Linked DNA regions of Homo sapiens: all the other regions are linked to region 4. Evidence: promoter capture Hi-C in 16 types of primary human blood cells and fetal thymus (Javierre and others, 2016). All regions are on one chromosome and are shown on one strand. Each heading gives the region's core, a stretch centred on a gene start or on the middle of the fragment in contact. The rest is flanking DNA. Distances are from core to core; before and after follow the strand shown. Region 1 has its middle 14 kb from the start of SNORA50D. Region 2 overlaps SLC30A5 (solute carrier family 30 member 5). Region 3 has its middle 12 kb from the start of CCDC125. Region 4 holds the start of CDK7 (cyclin dependent kinase 7).

What was found. Contacts are between HindIII fragments. The CHiCAGO score rates a contact against its expected background, and 5 or more counts as called.
Region 1: a fragment that was not itself captured here is called in contact with the fragment with the promoter of CDK7 in region 4 in 1 of 17 cell types (monocytes); the score reaches 5.1 in monocytes.
Region 2: a contact is called between a fragment that was not itself captured here and the fragment with the promoter of CDK7 in region 4, in 7 of 17 cell types (neutrophils, naive CD8 T cells, monocytes and 4 more). The highest score is 12.5, in neutrophils.
Region 3: a fragment that was not itself captured here is called in contact with the fragment with the promoter of CDK7 in region 4 in 15 of 17 cell types (neutrophils, erythroblasts, non-activated CD4 T cells and 12 more); the score reaches 17.0 in neutrophils.

What each region holds. Positions count from the first base shown.
Region 1 is chr5:69,145,045-69,147,968 of GRCh38, forward strand. No RefSeq gene overlaps it. Among named protein-coding and RNA genes, the nearest start is that of SNORA50D, 14 kb to the right of the region's middle. The HindIII fragment of the contact is 5,026 bases long and covers 1-2,924 here.
Region 2 is chr5:69,121,144-69,124,156 of GRCh38, forward strand. SLC30A5 (solute carrier family 30 member 5) reads left to right here. Exons shown (of 16, transcript NM_022902.5): 13 at 551-752; 14 at 2,056-2,282. Among named protein-coding and RNA genes, the nearest start is that of SLC30A5, 29 kb to the left of the region's middle. The HindIII fragment of the contact is 7,248 bases long and covers 1-3,013 here.
Region 3 is chr5:69,343,376-69,346,505 of GRCh38, forward strand. No RefSeq gene overlaps it. Among named protein-coding and RNA genes, the nearest start is that of CCDC125, 12 kb to the left of the region's middle. The HindIII fragment of the contact is 4,249 bases long and covers 1-3,130 here.
Region 4 is chr5:69,233,463-69,236,601 of GRCh38, forward strand. It overlaps CDK7 (cyclin dependent kinase 7), which reads left to right and starts at 1,424. Exons shown (of 12, transcript NM_001799.4): 1 at 1,424-1,579; 2 at 1,932-1,991. The coding sequence starts at 1,514. RefSeq lists an enhancer at 1,146-1,674. The HindIII fragment of the contact is 18,686 bases long and covers 853-3,139 here.

The sequences.
Region 1 (2,924 bases), core at 297-2,796, 88 kb before region 4:
ACTTGATATTACGTCAGTTTTTTGAATGTTTTAAGATTTGTTTTGTGGCCTAACATATGGTCTGTCCTTGAAAAGATGCATGTGCTGAGGAGAAGAATGTATATTCTGCAGCTGTTAGATGAAATGTTAGGTAAATATTATTACGTCCACTGTCTATGGTGCAGATTCAGTCCAAAGTTTCTTTGTTGTATTTTTGTCTGGATGATCTGTCAAATGCTGAAAGTGGGGTGCTGACATCTCCAGCTACTATTGTATTGGGGTCTATCTCTCTTTTCAGTTCTAATAAAATTTGCTTTATATATATATATGGGTGCTCCAGTGTTGGGTACATATATATTTACAATTATTATATCATTTGCTGAATTGACCCCTTTATCATTATATAATGTCCTTCTTTGTCTCTTTTTATTATTTTTATTTTACTTTATTTTATTTTTTTTGAGACAGAGTCTCACTATGTCGCCCATGCTGGAGTGCAGTGGTGCGATCTCAGCTCACTGAAACATCTGCCTCCCAGGTTCAAGTGATTCTCCTGCCTCAGCCTCCTGAGTAACTGGGATTACAGGCGCCCACCACCACGCCTGGCTAATTTTTGCATTTTTTTTAGTAGAGACGGGGTTTCGCCATGTTGGCCAGGCTGGTCTCAAACTCCTGATCTCAGGTGATCCACCCACCTTGGCCTCCAAAAGTGTTGGGATTACAGGCATGAGCCACCGTGCCTGGCCCTTTGTCTTTTCATAGTTTTTGCCTTGAAATCTGTTATGTCTAATATTAGTATAGCTACTCCTACCCTTTCTTGGTTTCCATTAGCATGGAATATCTTTTTCCCTCCATTTATTTTCGGTCTGTGGGTGTCTTTATAGGTGAATTGTGTTTCTTGGAGGCAATAGATCTTTGGGTCTTGTTTTTTTAATCCATTCAGCCACTCTGGGTCTTGACTAGAGAGTCTAGTCCATTTGCATTCAATGTTATTTGTAAGTAAGAACTTATTCCTCCATTTTGTTATTTTCTGAATCTTTTGTGGTCTTCTTTTCCTTCTTCCTTCCTGTCTTCCTCTTAGTGAAGGTGATTTTCTCTAGTCATATGTTGAATTTCTTGCTTTTTACTTTTCATGTTTGTGTTGTATGCTTTTAGATTTGAGGTTAGCATCAGGCATGCTAATAATACCTTAAAAACCCATTATTTTAAACTGATTATAACACAGAACATAAACAAACTAACAAGCAAAAAGAAAACTAGGGCCGGGCGCGGTGGCTCACGCCTGTAATCCCAGCGCTTTGGGAAGCCAAGGCGGGCAGATCACGAGGTCAGGAGATCGAGACCATCCTGACTAACACGGTGAAACCCTGTCTTTACTAAAAATACAAAAAATTAGCCAGGCGTGGTGGCACACGCCTGTAGTCCCAGCTATTCAGGAGGCTGAGGCAGGAGAATGGCATGAACCCAGGAGGCGGAGCTTGCAGTGAGCCGAGATGGCGCCACTGCACTCCAGCATGGGCGACAGAGCAAGACTGTGTCTCAAAAAAAAAAAAAGAAAGAAAGAAAACTCTATACTTTAGCTTTGTCTCCTCACTTTTTAACTTTTTGCTATTTCTAGTCATATCTTACTGTACTATGTCTTGAAAATTTGTTGCAGTTATTATTTTTGATCAGTCTATCTTTTCATCTTTCTACTTGAGAAATGAGAAGTTTACATACCACAATTGCAGTGTTATATTATTCTGTATTTTTCCGTGTACTTACTATTACCAGTGAGTTTTGTAACTTCAGATGATTTCTTTTGTTGTTGTTGCTGTTGCTGAGACAGGGTCTTGCTTTGTCAGCCAGGCTGTAGAGCAGTGGCACAATCATAGCTCACTGCAGCCTTGAACTCTCAGGTTCAAGCATTCTTCCCACCTCAGCCTCCCAAGTAGCTGGGACTACAGGTATGCGCCACCACGCCCAGCTAACTCTTTTAACTTTTTTGTACAGATGAGGTCTCACTATGTTGCCCAGGCTGGTCTCAAACTCTTGAGCTCAAGTGATCCTCTCTCTTCAGCCTCTCACAGTGCTGGGATTACAGGCATGAGCCACTGCACCCAGTTCCTTCAAATGATTTCTTATTGCTCATTAACATCTTTTTCTTTTAGACTGAAGAACTCCCTTTAGCATTTCTTGTAGGATAGGTGTGGTGTTGATGAAATCCCTCAGCTTTTGTTTATTTGGGAAAGGCTATTTCTATTTCATGTCTGAAGGATGTCTTTTGCTGGATATACTATTTCTAGAGTAAAAGGTTTTTTTCCTTCTGCACTTAAATATGTCATGCCACTCTCTCCTGACCTACAAATTTTCCACTGAAAATTCTGCTGCCAGATGAACTGGAGCTCCATTGTATGTTATTAATATTTGTTTCTTTTCTCTTGCTGCTTTTAGGATTCTTTCTTTATCCTTGACCTTTCAAAGTTTATTAAATGCCTTGAGGTAGTCTTTGGGTTAAATTCTTAGGGTTCTACAACCTTCGTTTTTGTTTGTTTGTTTTTTGGGTTTTTTTTTTTCTTTTTTTTCTTTTTTCTACAATCTTCTTTCTTTTTTTTTGAGATGAAGTCTCACTCTTGTCCCCCAGGCTGGAGTGCAATGGCACGATCTCAGCTCACTGCAACCTCTGCCTCCCAGGTTCAAGTGATTCTCCTGCCTCAGCCTCCCGAATAGCTGGGATTACAGGCGCCTGCCACCAGGCCCAGCTAATCTTTGTATTTTTAATAGAGACAGGGTTTCACCATGTTGGCCAGGCTGGTCTTGAACTCCTGACCTTAGGTGATCTGCCCGCCTCGGCCTCCCAAAGTGCTGGGATTACAGGCATGAGCCACCACGCCCGGCCTTACAATCTTCTTATACTTGAATATTGATATCTCTCTCTAGGTTTGGGAAGTTCTCTGTTATTATCC
Region 2 (3,013 bases), core at 370-2,869, 110 kb before region 4:
AATTTGTTTTTAATTTAAATAAATGCGAGATTACTATTGTATGTTTCCTTTTTATTATACTTGTTTTACTTTGGAAAATTTTACTGTGTTTAAGACATAATAAGACCATATTTGGAATCTGCTCATTAATAAATTATAATTGTTGGCATATAAACTGTTCAAATTTACCTAGCAATATAAAGATTTCAGGTACAGTGTATACTTGCCCTAGTAAGCAGTACTTTCAAACTCTTCAATAAACAAAACAAAACTTTGCATCATTTATTTATACATAAACCATAAACCAAGTACATACCATTCTTAATTGAAATAAGTCCAAATTCCTCTACTTACCAATTCTGCTTGATATTTGAAAGTTAAAATGTTTCTTCTAAAATGTTCTAAAATTCACATTTTTAAAATTTTGGACTTACTGAAACTTAGTAAGGTTTTACTGTGAATACTTTCAAAACTGTAAACAGAAAAACATATATAGCTATATAATAACTTTTAAATAACAAGTCTATTTTTAAATTACTAATTTAAAGGTTTTTTTTCTCCCTTTTGCTAGCCAGTCTCAGTTGGAGGGCTGATAGTAAACCTTATTGGTATCTGTGCCTTTAGCCATGCCCATAGCCATGCCCATGGAGCTTCTCAAGGAAGCTGTCACTCATCTGATCACAGCCATTCACACCATATGCATGGACACAGTGACCATGGGCATGGTCACAGCCACGGATCTGCGGGTGGAGGCATGAATGCTAACATGAGGGGTGAGTCCTTGCAAAATATTATCCTACTTTTCAACTGTGTTCTAAATCAACCCTCTGTGTTTATTTGTATTAAGTTTTGGGCTTCTGGTATGATATGATTTTTAAAAAGCAATCTGTGACTAAAAGAAAGGTCTGAAGCTATCACTATAGAAAATATTCTTACCTGAATACACATAAAATTAAATATTATTCAGCCTTTAAAAAGAGGGACATTCTGGCTGGGAGCATGGTGGTTCACGCCTGTTAATCCCAGCAATTTGGGAGGCTGAGGCGGGAGTACCACCTGAGGACAGGAGTTCAAGACCAGCCTGGCCAATATGGTGAAACCCTGTGCCTACTAAAAATACAAAAATTAGCCGGACATGGTGGCAGGTGCTTGTAATCCCAGCTACTCAGGAGGCCGAGGCAGAAGAATCGCTTACAGGTGTGAGCCACCATGCCTGGCCGTCACAGAAAATTTTTTAAAAAGAAAATGAGGCTGGGAACAGTGGCTCACATCTGTAATCCTAGCACTTTGGGAGGCCAAGGTGGGTGGATCACCTGAGGTCAGGAGTTCGAGACCAGTCTCTCCAACATGGTGAAACCCTGTCTCTACTAAAAATACATAACTTAGCCAGGTGTGGTGGCAGGCGCCTGTAGTCTCAGCTACTCAGGAGGCTGAGACACGAGAATCACTTGAACCTGGGAGATGGAGGTTGCAGTGAGCCAAGATTACGCCACTTTACTCCAGCCTGGGCAACAGAGTGAGACTCTATCCAAAACAAAAAGAAAATGAAAATATATTTGTTCTTAAATGTTAGTTTTTAAATGATTATAATTATATAGTCCTTTTCATAGTGACAGCTGAATAGATATTAGTTGCAAGGTAAACACAGTGTGCTATTATGAACCTTCATTACAAAAAGGAAATTCTTACTCCTTTTTTAGAAATTTTTATTGCACTATAAAAAAAATGGAGGAAGTACTAATCATTTATTTTGCTGAATTGTTTATTCTGATTGCTTAATATAAGTAATGTGGGTAATGTCAAAACTTGCCTCAAGTATGATTTTTGGGAAGCCTTTCCAGACAAAGTACACCATAAAATTTGGCACGCTGTGTCATGAGTGCCTATGTCCTTATATTTTTACCACTGTATTCTGAATTCCTTGAGGGCAGTGACCATGTTTTAGGCATTTTGAAGTACTAGCCAGTAGCAGAGTATGTGGTGCACAGTAGGTATCCAGTAATATTAGTAGAATGTATTAAAAAACTAAATTAGATGTGCCTTAATTTTTAATGTCCTTATATATTTTATTTGTAGGTGTATTTCTACATGTTTTGGCAGATACACTTGGCAGCATTGGTGTGATCGTATCCACAGTTCTTATAGAGCAGTTTGGATGGTTCATCGCTGACCCACTCTGTTCTCTTTTTATTGCTATATTAATATTTCTCAGTGTTGTTCCACTGATTAAAGATGCCTGCCAGGTTCTACTCCTGAGATTGCCACCAGAATATGAAAAAGAACTACATATTGCTTTAGAAAAGGTACTGTATGTAATTTCTTCACTACTTTCTTCCTTGAAAATCACATTTTTGAAGTCTTTGCTGGAAGTAAAACAGACAACCAAATAAATAATAAAACAAAACGAGGCCAAAAAAGAAATATAAAGTAGCATTTAAAATTTAATAAGTTGACCTAACAAGAAATATGCAAGATATAAATGAGAAAAATACAGTTTTACTTAAAGGATATAAAACAGGGACCGAATAGATGGATGAGATTTTCTTGGATGAGAAGACTCTTTATTATAATGATGTTGATTTTATTTTATTTAGATTTCAATTTAGTTGCCTTCATTGGATATTTTTGTTTATGGTTTGGGATGTTCTAAAATTATTTGGAACTTACTTGGAAGAGTTAGCGCTTGAGAATAAGAAAACATACATAAACTTACAGAATTAATTAATAGGATCCTACTTTGCAATTATAAAGTAGCAGAATTAAGTGACAAAACTAACAGTTTAGATCGAGACCATCCTGGCTAACAAGGTGAAACCCCGTCTCTACTAAAAATACAAAAAATTAGCCGGGCGTGGTGGCGGGCACCTGTAGTCCCAGCTACTCGGGAGGCTGAGGCAGGAGAATGGCGTGAACCCGGGAGGCAGAGCTTGCAGTGAGCCGAGACCACGCCACTACACTTCAGCCTGGGTGACAGAGCGAGACTCCACCTCAAAAAAAAAAAAAAAAAACCTAACAGTTTGGTCCTTGCACAAGA
Region 3 (3,130 bases), core at 631-3,130, 110 kb after region 4:
TATGATATGGATTGTGCTAATACTGTACATCAATTGGCAAGTATTGCCATTTTAGCAATGTTAAGTTTTCTGATGCATGAAGATGGGATAGCTTTCTTTTTTGTGTGTGAGATGGAGTCCTGCTCTTTTGCCTACACTGGAGTGCAGTGGTGCGATCTTGGCTCAATGCAATCTCTGCCTCCTGGATTCAAGCAATTCTCCTGCTTCAGCCTCCTGAGTAGGTGGGATTACAGGCATGCACCACCATGCTCAGCTAATTTCTTTTCTTTTTCTTTTTTTCTTTTCTTTTGAGACGGAGTCTCACTGTATTGCCCAGGCTGGAGTGTAGTGGCGCAATCTCGGCTCACTGCAACCTCCACCTCTCAGGTTCAAGCAATACTCCTGCCTCAGCCTCCTGAGTAGCTGGGATTACAGGCATGCACCACCAGGCCCAGCTAATTTTTATATTTTTAGTAGAGACGGGGTTTCACCATGTTGGTCAGGCTGGTCTCGAACTCCTAACCTCGTGATCCACCCACCTCAGCCTCCCAAAGTGCTGGGATTAAAGTCATGAGCCACTGCACCCGGCCGGGTCTTTTTTTTTGAGACACAGTCTCATTCTGTCACCCGGTTGGAGTGCAGTGGGGCAATCTCAGCTCACTGCAACCTCCACCTCGTGGATTCAAGCGATTCTCCTGGATCAGCCTCCCAAGTAGCTGGGATTACAGGCTCCCACCACCACACCCAGATAATTTTTGTATTTTTAGTAGAGATGGGATTTTGCCACGTTGGCCAGGCTGGTCTCGAACTCCTGACCTCAGGTGACCTGCCTGTCTCAGCCTCCCAAAGTGCTGGGATTACAGGCATGAGCCACCATGCCCAGCCTTATTTATTTGTTTATTTTTCAACTTAACAGAATTCATCTTTTTTTTTTTTTTTTTTTGAGATGGAGTCTTGCTCTGTTGCCCAGGCTAGAATGCAGTGGCACAATCTCAGTTTACTGCAACCTCCACCTCTCGGGTTCAAGCAATTCTCCTGCCTCAGCCTCCGGAGTAGCTGAGATTACAGGCGCCTGCCACCATCCCTGGCTGATTTTTGTATTTTTAGTAGAGATGGGGTTTCACCATGTTGGCCAGGCTGGTCTCAAACTCCTGACCTCAGGTGATCTGCCTGTCTTGGCCTCCCGAAGTGCTGGGATTACAGGCATGAGGCACTGTGCTGGGCCAACAGCAATTCATCCTGAATGTAAACTTTTTAATATATGTTGGGAATTATTCCCTTATCTTCTATTTGTTGGGAGAAATTTTAAAATAATTGGTATTGGCTCTTTTTTAAACATTTAATAAAATTCACCAGTGGCTCTCTCTTCTTCCTGCTCTAGCCATGTAAGACGTGCCTGCTTCTCCTTGGCCTTCTACCATGATTATAAGTTCCCTCAGGCCTCCCCAGCCATGCTTCCTATATAGCCTGTGGAACCATGAGCCAATTAAACCTCTTTTCTTTATAAACAATAAAAAAAATCGCCAGGTGTGGTGGCTTACACCTGTAATCCCAGCACTTTGGGAGGCCAAGGTGGGTGGATCACCTGAGGCTGGGAGTTCAAGATAAGTCTGGCCAATAAGGTAAAACCCCGTCTCTACTAAAAATACAAAAAATTAGCTGTGTGTGGTGGTGGGCGCCTGTAATCCCAGCTACTCGGGAGGCTGAAGAAGGAGAATTGCTTGAATCCGGGACGCGGAGGTTGCACTGAGCCAAGATGTCACCATTGCACTCCAGCCTGGGCAACAAGAGTGAAGCTCCATCTAAAAAATAATAATAATAAATAAATTAATTAATTAATTTAAAAAAATCACCAGTGAAGCCATCTGTGCCTGGACCTTTCTGTGTAGGAAGTTTTAAAATTACTAATTTATTATATTTTCTTGTTATAGGCCTATTCATAATTTATATTTCTTCTTGAATCAGTTTCAGAAGTTTGTGAATTTCTAGGAATTTGTCCATTTAATATAAATTATCTAATTTGTTGGCATACAGTTGTTTATAGTTTTCCTTTATAATCCATTTGATTTCCGTAGTCAGTAGTGATATCCCCTCCCTTCTCTTTTTTGTTAATCTAGATTAAGGTTTGCCGATTTTGTTGATTTTTTTAAATCAAGTTGTTTTATTATTTTGATAATTCTGTACATATTCTAGATACACACCTGATATCAGATATTCATTTTGCATTTTCTCCAATCTGTGATTTGTGCTTTCATCTTCTTTCTCTTTTTTAAAATTTGTAGAGATGGAGTCTTTCTATGTTGCCCAGGCTGGCATGCAGTAGCTATTTGCAGGCACAGTCATACCTCACTACAACCTTCAACTCCAGGGCTCAAGTGATCCTCCTACCTCAGCCTCCCTAGTAGCTGGGAGTAGTTTGGACTAGGGTGAGCACTGCTGCCCTGGCTCTTTGTGCTTTCATTTTCTTAACATTGTCTTTTGAAGAGAGAAAGAGTTATGAATTTTGCTGAAGTCCCATGTATCAGTCCCTTTATGGTTTGTGCTTTTTGTGTCTTATCAGAAAAATCTTTTTTCTAATCCAAGACACTAAATTTTTTCACTTGTTGAAAGATTATTCTTTCCCCCATTGACTTGCCTTTGGACTTCCATCAAAAATTGCCACAGAGCTCGGTGGCTGTCGCCAGTAACGCTAACACTTTGGGAGACTGAGGCAGGAGGATTCATTGAGCCCAGGAGTTCCCGACCAGGCTGGGCAACGTGGTGAAACCTTGTTTCTACACAAAGTTAAAAAATTAGCCAGGTGTACTGGCGAGCATCTGTAGTTCCAGCTACTTGGAGGCTGAGGTGGGAGGATCACCTGAGCCTGGGGAGATTGAGGCTGCAGTGAGCAAAGAGCATGCCATGGCATTCCAACATGGGTGACAGAGCAAGACCCTGTCTCAAAATAAAAAAATGGCCCATCAACTACTGTCAGCTTCAGGTGGGGGGCGCGGGGGAAAAACTTTAAAAAGAAAACATTTTTAAAAATGTGCCCATATGTGCAGATTTCTTTGCTTTTTTTTTTTTTTTTTTTTTTTTAGACAGGGTCTGTCTGTGTTGCCCAGGCTGGAGTGCAGTTGTGCAATCTCAGCTCACTGCAACCTCAGCTCAC
Region 4 (3,139 bases), core at 174-2,673:
GAGGTCAGGAGATTGAGACCAGCCTGGCCAACAAGGTGAAACCCCGTCTCTACTAAAAATACAAAAATTAGCTGGGTGTGGTGGAGCAGGCCAGTAATCCCAGCTAATCGGGAAGCTGAGGCAGGAGAATCGCTTGAACCCAGGAGGCAGAGGTTGCAGTGAGCTCAGATCGGGCCAGCGTACTCCAGCCTGAGCAACAGAGTGAGACTGTCTCAAAAACAAACAAACAAACAAAGGCAGGGGGAGGGGGGCACATTTCCATGTTGACAGCTGCTCTGGCTCAGAAACTTTTAATTATCCACTAGTAGAGCCATCTGGATTACTGCAATAGTTCTCTAATAGGCCTTCTTTCTTTTTCTTGTCCCTCAAAATCTATAATATAGTCTCCCAACAGCAAGAGTGAACCTTTTAAAAGTGAGTCAGGTCATATCACTTGTCTGCTCCAATCCCTCCAGTGGGTTTTCAGTGATGACTTTCTTGTACCACCCTATTTAAAACCTCCATCCCTGCCCCTGCCCTGATTTGTTATCCTTTATCTGCTTTATTATCTCTATAGCACTTATCACCTATGTATCATAACACATATTTGACTTGTTTTTTTATCTCCTCCCATTGGAAGGCAGGGATCTTTGCTCCCTGCTATCTCAGATTCTACAATGGTGCTTGGCACATAGATAACACTCAATATCAGCATCCTAAGAGAGAGAAAAATGAAAAAGGAAAAGCACTCAATATGTTTTTGAATAAATGAATTAGTGTGTTTGTTATGACAATTTATGATAATCAAGGGGTTGGGTACTCATTACTGCTAAGTTAATTGAGCACTGTCTCAATTAATTGAGTTAATGTCTAAGCTTTCTGCATGTTTCATTTAATACCCACAATCTCCTGTGATGTAGTTCATTATTTTTTCCATTTTACCGAGTAGAAAACTGAGGACTAGAAGCTGATTCCCACAGCACGTTTCAGTTGAGTTGGATTTTGTTTTCCTGGGCCTGCTTCTTCATAAAGGGACTGGACTAAGAATACTCTTGACCAGCCCGTAAGAACTTGGCACTCGTCTCAGTAATCTGAGATAGCAGGGTTTGGCGTCCATAGCAACCACGGCGACAGGACGCGCTCGAGCAAGAACCAAAAAGCGAGAACAGGTACAAGGCCAAACTTTCTACATTCACAGACACCTACCAAACCCCGAACATGGAACACCAAATTAGAACGCTGACCAGTTCCTGGTAATGTAGAAAACACCCAAGTTAAAACGGCAACAGAGTGACACAGCAGCCATTGAAGATGCCCCACTTCAGGCACCGACAGGCGTCACGTGACGGGTGGGGAACGCCAACCGCCTGGGCCTAGCGCAGCTTCCTCCGCCCACCACGGAAGTGAGGCGGGGATACTAAAGCGACGGAGCCCGGTGGACGGAAGTGGGTGTTGGAGGCTTTAAGGTAGCTTTAAATTCGTGTTGTCCTGGGAGCTCGCCCTTTTCGGCTGGAGTCGGGCTTTACGGCGCCGGATGGCTCTGGACGTGAAGTCTCGGGCAAAGCGTTATGAGAAGCTGGACTTCCTTGGGGAGGGACAGGTGAGGCTCTCTGGAAGGACGGGGAGGGCCCCAAGCGGACAGCCCCGCGCCGCCTCCACCTTTGCGGGTTTTCCCGTGGAGGCCAGAGGTCTGGCTTGGCTGCTCGTTCTCGTTGGGGGAAACCGTCCAGACGCACTTGCTGCCCATTCTTTACATCCTGGGGGTGAATCCCTGAGGGGCCTCTCCTTGCTGAAGAGTAGCCTGGAGCTGGACGGAGACTGACCCGCCACGTTTCCAGCCGCCGCGAGTCTGCTCAGGAACTCTGGGCTCTTTGCTTCGCGAAATGTAAAAATGCAAAAAGGCAAACACAAAAACTCCCATAAACTTATGTTATTTCTATTTTTCTTTCTAGTTTGCCACCGTTTACAAGGCCAGAGATAAGAACACCAACCAAATTGTCGCCATTAAGAAAGTGAGTTACCTTTTTATGTTGTTTTTAAGTCTCCTTGAAGATGTCTGTATTATTAATTGACTGATAGCCATTTTATTAGTCTTGACCATACTCTGATAATGAGTTACTCATGTCATTTTCAGAGACAAAATAATTAATTAGTGCTTTGTGTTCCCAAACGGAACTCTAGGGTTGAACCCGTTTTAATTTCTATTGAAATGAAGAAGAAGCTGTATGTTATTTTTACTGCATAAATTCATATGTTGTGGGCAAGTACTGCCCATCTTTTCGGTCCTCAGAACTATTGGATACCATGATCTTTCTAGGTCACTGTTTATACCTCACCTGCATCCACTCAGTGTGTCGTATCTGTATTTTCTGTGTACGGATTTACCATGAAAGACTTTCACTAGCATGAACAACATTGATGTGAGGTCTAAAATGAGTTCAGTAGCTTCTTATATTCATTCAAAAGACCTGGGTCGGATTCAGTAGCTTCTTATATTCATTCAAAAGACTTGGGTCGGGCCAGCCGCGGTGGCTCACGCCTGTAATCCCAGCACTTTGGGAGGCCGAGGTGGGCGGATCACTTGGGGTCAAGAGATCCAGACCATCCTGGCCAACATGGTGAAACCCTGTCTCTACTAAAAATACAAATATTAGCTGGGTGTGGTGGCACCTGTCTGTAATCCCAGCTACTCGGGAGGCTGAGGCAGGAGAATCACTTGAACCTGGGAGGTGGAGGTTGTAATGAGCCGAGATGGTGCCACTGTGCTCCAGCCTGGTGACAGAGGGAGACTCCATCTTAAAAAAAAAAAAAAAAAGATTTGGGTCATAATTACATAACTCACGTTCACCTACATTGTTTCTTTTAACCTTCAAAACAATCTATAAAGTGGTTAAAAGTAACCCTATTTTATACTTGAGGTACCTGAGACTGAGTGACTAGGTGACTTGTCAAGATCACACAGCTAGTGATTGCTGAAGCTGGGATTTAAATCCAGGTGTCCTGATGTTGCTTTTGTTACCGTTGCTACTTTGAATCTGCTTCTCCTGCTTCAAAAACCCTAACTCCTTGGAAGTTATCCATATTTAACATTAATTCCCCCTTTTTTTGGTCATCTTCCAGCCTCCAAGTACTGTCTTGCATTCATTTAAAACCTGACTGA